3 separate regions of the Homo sapiens genome follow, and all the other regions are linked to region 3. Evidence: promoter capture Hi-C in human tissues and cell types (Jung and others, 2019). All regions are on one chromosome and are shown on one strand. Each heading gives the region's core, a stretch centred on a gene start or on the middle of the fragment in contact. The rest is flanking DNA. Distances are from core to core; before and after follow the strand shown.

What was found. The method cuts DNA at HindIII sites, captures the fragments that hold promoters and counts their contacts. A contact is called where the count stands out against the background at its distance.
Region 1: a contact is called between a fragment that was not itself captured here and the fragment with the promoter of SOWAHB in region 3, in 1 of the 25 tissues and cell types used here (mesendoderm cells).
Region 2: a contact is called between a fragment that was not itself captured here and the fragment with the promoter of SOWAHB in region 3, in 2 of the 25 tissues and cell types used here (H1 embryonic stem cells and stomach).

What each region holds. Positions count from the first base shown.
Region 1 is chr4:76,552,629-76,555,824 of GRCh38, reverse strand. SHROOM3 (shroom family member 3) reads right to left here. Exons shown (of 11, transcript NM_020859.4): 2 at 62-216. Among named protein-coding and RNA genes, the nearest start is that of MIR4450, 19 kb to the left of the region's middle. The HindIII fragment of the contact is 3,492 bases long and covers 1-3,127 here.
Region 2 is chr4:76,594,214-76,597,157 of GRCh38, reverse strand. The region is part of intron 2 of SHROOM3 (shroom family member 3); the gene reads right to left. Among named protein-coding and RNA genes, the nearest start is that of MIR548AH, 20 kb to the right of the region's middle. The HindIII fragment of the contact is 3,809 bases long and covers 1-2,944 here.
Region 3 is chr4:76,896,811-76,899,616 of GRCh38, reverse strand. SOWAHB (sosondowah ankyrin repeat domain family member B) reads left to right here and starts at 1,473. Exons shown (of 1, transcript NM_001029870.3): 1 at 1,473-2,806. The coding sequence starts at 1,768. RefSeq lists silencers at 1,313-1,382, 1,453-1,752, 2,013-2,122. The HindIII fragment of the contact is 8,540 bases long and covers 1-2,806 here.

The DNA.
Region 1 (3,196 bases), core at 132-2,631, 340 kb after region 3:
AGGGTAGGGAGAGAGGTGGGGTGAGGTGGTAGGAGGGACAGGGTGGGGGTCTGCCACCTACCTGCGCACTACCAGCCTGAGGGTCTTGTAGGATCCTTTCACCAGGGAAACTGCCTCCTTTCTGGAGCTGCTCAGAGTCACCTCATTGATGTGCACAACCTCATCCCCAGCCTGCAGTTTGGAGCTCAGGGTGTCTGCTTTGCCCCCTTCTTCGACCTGCTTGGAGGGAGAGATGCGACAGCCACGAGTGAGCTTTCCCCTGGCCTGGGGTCTGTCCGGCTATCCCGAGCCCAGCTTAGACTCCTGCAGAGCCCAACGGACCAGCTAGGGCCACACCCCAGCGCTTGCAGCCAGAGGGAAAACTGTGAGAGCGCAGGGACTGGCTCTGGGTGTCCACACCCTCAAGAACCAGCACCCTGCCTGCCCAGGGAGGGCGCCCTTAAACATCAGCTGAATGAACGACAGAACTCAGTTTCCATCCAAAGGCCATTATCCCACGGTGCTCAGGACATCTCCCCAGCCCTTGCTTTACATCTTCAAAAAGTCCACTCAGGGCAACTGTTTTATCCCTTTAGAAGAGCAGTCCCCAAACTTTTTGGCACCAGGGACCAGTTTTGTGGAAGACAATTTTTCCACGGATGGGGTGTGGGCGGATGGTTTTGGCGTGGTTCAAGTGCGTTGCATTTATTGTGCACTTTATTATTTTTTCATTATAACATATAATGAAATAATTATACAACTCAGCATAACATAGAATCAGCGGAGCCCTGAGCTTGTTTCCCGCAACTAGATGGTCCCACTGGGGGCGATGAGAGATAGTGACAGATCTTCAGGCATTAGATTCTCATAAGGAGTGTGCTACCTAGATCCCTCGCATGTGTAGTTCACAATAGGGTTCGGGCTCCTGTGAGAATCTAATGCTGCCACTGATCTTACAGGAGGCAGAGCTCGGGTGGTTATGTGAGCAATGGGGAGCAGCTGTAAATACAAATGAAGCTTCACTTACTCATCCACTCCTACTGTGCGGCCTGGTTGCTAACAGACCACTGTAATGGTCCGTGGCCTGGGGGTTGGGGACGGGTTACATTAGAAGTTGAGTTCCTCTGGCCGGGTACGGTGGCTCATGCCTGTAATCCCAGCACTTTGGGAAGCTAAGGCTGGCAGATCACAGGGTCAGAAGATCGAGACCATCCTGGCTAACACGGTGAAACCCCATCTCTACTAAAAATACAAAAAAATTAGCCAGGCATGGTGGCAGGCACCTGTAGTCCCAGCTACTCAGGAGGCTGAGGCAGGAAAATGGCATGAACCCAAGAGCCGACGCTTGCAGTGAGCTGAGATCACGCCACTGCACTCCAGCCTGGGTGACAGAGTGAGACTCCGTCTCAAAAAAAAAAAAAAAAAACACAAACAAAAAACAACAAAAAAAAGTTGTGTTCCTCTTACCTTACTTTTTGTTCTAAAATTATAATTCATTGGATACATAAAGTAGTACATTCAGACAATGGAATATTATTCAGCACTGAAAAGAAATGAGCTATCAAACCATGAAACAACATGAAGGAAACTTAAAATGCATATTTCTAAGTGAAAGAAGCCAGTCTGAAAAGGCTACATACCACACAATTTCAAGTGTATGACATTGTAGGAAAGGCAAAACTAGGGAGGCAGTAAAAAGATCAGCAGTGGCTGAGGTTAAAGGGAAGGGTAGGATGAATATGGTGGCACAGAATATTTTAGGGCAGTGAAACCATTCGATATGATATTGTAGTGGTGGACACATGCCTTGTACATTTGTCAAAACCCATAGAATGTACAGCACCAAGAGTGAACCTACTATAAACTATGGGTGACAGGAGATGTCCATGTAGGTTCATCAGTTGTAATAAATGTATCACTCTGGTGCAGGATTTTGATAGTGGGGGAGGCTATGTGTATGTGTGGGCAGCAGATACATGGGAAATATCTGCACCTTCCATTCGTCTTTTTTTTATGAACCTAATATTGCTCTTAAAAAATAAATACGCTGGCTGGGCACAGTGGCTCACGCCTGTAATCCCAGCACTTTGGGAGGCTGAGGCAGGTGGATTTGGATTGCCTGAGCTCAGGAGTCCAAGACCACCCTGCGCAATGTGGTGAAACCCTGTCTCTACTAAAAATACAAAAATTAGACGGGTGTGGTGGCACACACCTGTAATCCCAGCTAGTTGGGAGGCTGAAGTGGGAGAATCGCTTGAAACCACGAGGTGGGCCTCGTGCGGTGTCTCATGCCTGTAATCCTAGCACTTTGGGAGGCCGGGGTGGGTGGATCACCTGAGGTCAGGAGTTCGAGACCAGCCTGGCCAACATGGTGAAACCCCGTCTCTACTAAAAACACAAAAATTAGCTGAGTGTGGTGGTGCATGCCTGTAATCCCAGCTACTCGGGAAGCTGAGGCAGGGAAATCATTTGAACCTGGGAGGTGGAGGTTGCAGTGAGCAGAGATCATGCCACTGCACTTCAGCCTGGGTGATAGAGCGAGACCCCGTCTCAAAAAAAATAAATAAATAAAAGAGAAAAGAAAAGAAACCAGGAGGTGGAGGTGCAGTGGGCCGAGATTGCATCACTGCTCTCCACTCCAGTCCAGCCTAGGCGACAGAGCGAGACTCTGTCTCAAAACAAAACAAAACAAAACAAAAATGTCCTGCACTATTATTCAGTCAACAAAGTTATTCAACACCTGCTTTACATCAGAAATTTTTCCAAGTGCTTGGGCTATAAAAGTGGACAAAATAGACAAAAACCTTTTGATCTTCTGATGCTTAAGTTAATGGGCAGAGGAGGGGAAGCAAACAATAAACATAATAAACAAGTAAGTAATGTAGTACGTTAGAAATTAATCATATGCTTTGGAAACAGGAAAATAAGGCTCGATCTGGGTCACATGCCAATGGATACTTATAGACGTCAATAACAATGAAAGGGAAGTAAAGGGGAAAACAAAAACAAAACCTGAGTAAACAAAACCTCACCCATATTTTCTCTTTTTTTAGTAATTACTCTCCAGAATTGCCCACATGTTCAAAAACCTTCAATAGGTCTCAAGATACATAAAATAGACCAAGCAATTATATATATACATATATTACATATACAAATTATATGCAGACATAGCTACATACATATATAGATATCTATATATATGTATATGTATATA
Region 2 (2,944 bases), core at 228-2,727, 300 kb after region 3:
ATGTACTTGTCAGTAGGGTGGTCTCTTTTGCTGAGTCTCTTTAGGAAAGACTTGGCAGATATTACACCCTTTTATCAGAGACAGAGGTTACTGTCTCTCCGTTGCCGTCTATTCTAGGAGAACAGGTCCTGATCAAGCCCCAGTTGAAGGGGTGAGGCTAGACCAGCTCTTCCTCAGCTATAGGCAGAGCTGTTCACATTGCGGCTGGTGCGACCTGGTGCTGGGGCAAGGCTGAGAGTGTCAGGTGATAAGGCTCTAGAGCTGTGGGGCACATGGGGTAGAGCCCAGTGATGGCTCCGGGGTGAGCCAGGGCCACACACTAGTAGATGTAGGGGACAGAATCCCAGAAGCTTAGGAGAATGCTTCTGATGGGATTTTGTTATTGTTGTTGCAAATGACACAGTAACATTGAACCCACAGAGAAAATCAAGCAAAAATGGGAATTTCTTGAGAAGGCCAGGGATGGAGATGGCCTCAGGGACTGGAAATTATTGTCAGGTTCTTCCTTGGGAGAGGCAGCATCTGTTGGAGAGTGTGTGTGTGTGTGTGTGTGTGTGTGTGTGTGTGTGTGTGTGTTTCTCTGTACCTATCTACCTACCTATACATCTAGACACAGTCATGCATTGCTGAATGATGGGGATATGTGACCAGAAATGCCTGATTAGGCAATTTCATCATACAAACATCACAGACAGTATTTACACAAACCCAGATGTTATACACAACATCTTTTGCTTTTCTTTTTAGAGACAGGGTCTTGCTCTGTTGCCCAGGCTGGAGTACGGTGGTGTGATCACAGCTCACTGTAGCCTCTACCTCCCAGGCTCCAGCCATCCTCTTGCCTCTAACTCCCAAGTAGCTGGGATCATAGGCACAAGCCACCACACCTGGCTCTCTATTTTTTCATATGAAAATGTCCCAGCACATTACTGAATATCAAACATTTCCCCTACTTGATCTGCAGGGATAATATCAAGTACTATATATCACTTCTGTGTATGCTCCATTATCAGTTTATGGAACCACTGTCATGCATGGGGTCCATCATTGACCCAAATTATTATGGGGTGCATGACAGTATATAGACAGAGAGAGCAAGGTGAAAAAAAAGACCTCACTTTTATCTTTGCAATAGGATTCAGTGTGTGTGCATGCAGGGGTAAAGTACACAGAAAACAACCATGGAGCAGAGAACTTCAGGTTTACCTTATCCCAGATTAACAACTGCAAGAGTTCTGCCTCCTCTTAGACTCCATGTACAAAAAGATAAAATTACAAAGAAACACTCTGATTTGCCTGGCTTAGAAACTTGCTTATCTAAAACAGGCCCTCATAATTGTTTACTCAATGGTTACTGTCCCCTGTTTTACTCCACAAGTATAATTTTGATTCCATTGCAGGATCAGATAATGATGTGCTCAGAAAGGCAGCTCCTTCATCACCCTAAGGGATTAACCATGCCTGGTCTATACTATTCTTGGTAATCTGACTCCCTGCCAGTTACTAGTGTAGGCAAGGATATAGGACATAAGCCTAACTAATGAGATCTGACTCCTAAAAAAAGAGAGTTTGCAGGAGGATTTTTGAAAAAGTATTTCTCATTCTTGATGAAATACACAAAACTAGAACTCCTTCCCTTGTTTGGACAAGACTCTGTGAGGACGTGATGCCTGGAGCTGCAGCAAACACCTTGCAACCATGAGGAACAAATGTAAGGAAGAAAATCATCATGCTAAGGGTGGCAGAATGAAAACACAGACAAACCTGGAGCTTTGATGACATCACCATGCCATTAAATTAACCCTGGCACCATGTCTGTCAGAAAGCCAGTCTGCAGACAGAGCAATGGAACTGACGTTCAAAGTCAGCTGAAATGAACAACTATGTAATCCAAAAAGAAAGTGAATAGCTGCCTACTTTCTAAATAATAATAAGAGTTAATGGTTACTGAGTTCCTATTACGTGTCAGGCAGTGTTCCAAGTGCTTTATATGTATTATCTCACTGAAACTACACAACAACACAACAAGGTAGAAACTTTGATTATTCCTTCTTTTTAGACAAGTAAATGAGGTTCAGAAATATGAGGTAACTTATCCAAGGTCACAAATTCAGCAATGCCAAGGTTGGAACTCACATGCAGGCCTTCTGACTCTAAGAGCTTTTCACCACTAAGTTAATGTTGAGGTGTTCCTGGCTTCCTATAGTTGGATTTCACAAGCTTCCTTCATATCTTGATATCTTCATCTCTTTTTATTTGAGTTGGTCTTAGTGGGTTTATGTTCAATACACCCAAATGTTCCCTTAGATACTGGCATTGTCAAGATTCAGGCTTCCTTTCTCTACTCCATAACAAATCTGTGAGTCTCAATGTCCATTTGTTAAATGCACCAAATCCAGATTTGCACTGATTTAGTGGAATTCATGGCGTTCCAATGGTTCCCTGTTCCCTCCCCAATTGTCACATAGCAGGTGTTAGTCTGACATCAGGGTCCTTTGGAGCTACACTTCCAATGCAATGTGATTTATTAATTAAACTATGAATGAGTGCCTAACAAGGGATGAAATTGTTGACACTGGTTCAAACACTGTAATTGTCCCATGATGTCCTCACCTCTAATTTTATGTTTTTTAACTTTTCAAAGTTAAAGTTTTTATGTAAGTGACATCCTGCGATTACATACATCTCTGTGACTCTTGAGACTAGGATGGCATTTCTATGGCCTTACTATTGTTTATTCATGTCACACCCTCACTCCCTCACTCAGTCAACAAATATTTGAGTATCTGCATGCACCAGGCGCTACACTAGGCACTGGTATCAATAGGTTATGTTCTCTGCCCTCACAGAGGGCAATAAAGTGTAATAATATGCCATATCAGTTTTCCCTCTGAATCAACAGGAGAGCTACAACAAATAAAAAGAGCACATAGGATTAGACATT
Region 3 (2,806 bases), core at 224-2,723:
ATAATGTAAAACCAAAGATTCATTCCTGGAAAAGTGCTAGGGTATTTTTGGGGATTTAAAATCAAGCTCAGTTAATGTGGTCTATAGGGCAGTCACTAAGATTGGTCCATGCTAAAACATGTCTTTGTCAACAATTGTAGGGCCAACACACATACTTTCAATACTCTTTCTTGGCGAGAAGTATAGGAACTATGAGTAATCAGAAATAGAAGAGCAAAAGGAAAAGTGAAAAGATGAGAAGAGTCCATGAGAAAAGAGAGGCAAATTACAGGGAAGGAGAAAATCGAGGTTTTTGAATGGGAAATACAGTGGACATGAGAGGATCTGAGAAACAGACATATTTCCTGTCAGTAGAGGCCGAAGGTAAACAAGGATGTCGTGTAACAGAAAGAAATGGGAAGGCCAAGTTAAAGAAAAGAATGAGAGAAGGCTTGGAACTAAAACAGGTAAAGAGATAATGACAGTGAAAACTATCTCAGGCATGTCAACAGGACTGATAAGGAACAGTGAGGGACATCCAGGATCTCACATCAAAGACAGAAGGGTCAACATGTGGAGAGAGAAAAAGGAAGAGGGATCCCAGCTGTTAGGGGGAAAAGGTGCTGTTAAAGACAGCTCTAGTCTGCATTTTGAACCTTACATTCTGAAAGGAAGCACTTCACCAAGCCAATACAAAACACTGTACAAATCTCTGCTGTTCACAAATTTTAGAGTAAATAAAAGCAAACTAATGCTACACATCAAATACCTTAACTGGCGAGACATAATTCCTAGTTCATTTTAGCCGCCGGGGGCAAGAAGCTATCAAAGTGATTTTTTTTTTCCAGCACCTTAATGTGAGACAAGTATGAAGGAAAGACAAGTATGAAAGAAAAAGTCCCAAACCAATATTGCCCAGTAGTAATTTTCAGAGTGATTTCTCTTTTCAGTATAGACTTGGATGTATTCGGACCCCTTGGAGGGGGCGCCGGAGAAGCGGCCCAGAAAGTATTTCTATATTAAGAAAAATTTAGTTTGGATGCAAAGTGAGTTTTGCGGACCTCAATACAGCCTCGAGAAATCTGAAGTACTCCTCTACAGCGTTAATAAAGAAAGATAACTCAGATTGCCTGTTAACTTGCAGCTTCTCCTCCTCCCCCATCGGCTTCAGCCTGAACTCATCAAAGCACCGGAGGACAGGAACGGACCTTCTATCGCTTTTGTTTCCTGCGTGGCGGAGACTTAGAGGAACGGCCGGTCGCCTACCTGCCTTCCACTTCCCCGGCCGCAGAGCAGTTCGCTGCCGGCTCGGTTCGCCGCCAACCTCACCTACCGGCTGGCTCTCCGGCCTGACTCTTCTGGGATGGGTGGCAGGGGGTGGGGGAGACCTCAGGGGGCGGAGGGACACGAGGAGGCGGGCCTGACCCTTCCCCCAGAGGCAGGGAGGAGGTGCCGCCAGGGCGCAGGTGAAACCGACTCGGCCCTATCCCGGGAACTTTCGCTGTGAGGACTCGTTGCGAGAGGCTAGAGTCGCGCAGGGGCGGCCTCGGAGCCGCCCTCTCTCACGCAGACTGCCGCGGGGACTCAGCCTTGGGGCCACCCGGAGGGGACCCACGGCCCTCCTGGCGCGCTCACGGGCTGCGGGCAGCGCTGGCCTCCGCGGCTGATGGGGGCGGCTAGTGCCGCCCCGGGCGCAGGTGACACTCGCCCGGCCAGGGTTTCCTCTGGCTGGGGAGAGCCCCGGGAGGGCGAGACTCAGACACCTCTGGGGCGGAGGACAAGGCAGCGATGGCCCGAGAGCTGAGCCAGGAGGCACTACTGGACTTTCTGTGCCAGGCTGGGGGCCGCGTGACCAACGCTGCCTTGCTGAGCCACTTCAAGAGCTTTCTCCGAGACCCCGACGCGTCCCCCAGCCAGCACCAGCACCGCCGCGAGCTCTTCAAGGGCTTCGTCAACTCGGTCGCCGCAGTGCGCCAGGACCCCGACGGCACCAAGTACGTGGTGCTCAAGAGGAGATACAGGGACCTTTTGGGGGAGGAGGGGCTGCAGCGACCCCGCGAGCCGCCCGCGGCCGCCCCCAGTGCAGGGGGAGCTGCGCCCTGCTCCCCGCGAGGCGCGCGCCGGGGGGAGCCGCCCCAGCAGCAGCCCAGGCGGCGGCGGCGCGAGAAGGAGCCGGAGGAGGAGCCAGCAGGTGCAGCAGCCAGAGCCGCCGACGCAGCTTGCAATGGACTCCCGGGCAGCGACTCCCGTAGGGCGCCCGGGAAGGGCGGCGGATCGAAGGGCAGTCCCGGACAGAGGCCGCCGGTGCCCGCAGCTGCAGCGGCAGGGGCCCAGGCGAGAGCGAGCTGCGCGGCGGCGAAGACGCAGGGCCGCTGCTGCTGGGAATGCCTCCAGAACAACCTGGCTGTACTGCCGGGAGAGCTCGGCGCACTCCCGCACTCGGCCACCGCGGAGGAGAAGCCGGCACGGGCTCTGCCTGCCCAGGATGACCGCGGGGCTTCCAGGGAGCGGGAAGAAGGCGCGCTAGCTGAGCCGGCGCCTGTGCCTGCAGTGGCTCACTCGCCTCCCGCCACCGTCGAGGCTGCGACAAGCAGGGCTTCCCCGCCTGCTCTCCTGCCCGGCCCCGCTCCCCGCGGAGACCGGCCGGAGCTGCTGACCCCCAGCTCCCTGCATTATTCGACCCTGCAGCAGCAGCAGCAGCGCACTCGAGAGTGGGTGGCCAGGCACCCGCAGGTGCCCGAGGCCCGTGATCAGGGCCCTATCCGCGCCTGGTCGGTGCTGCCAGACAACTTCCTCCAGCTGCCCTTGGAACCCGGCTCCACGGAGC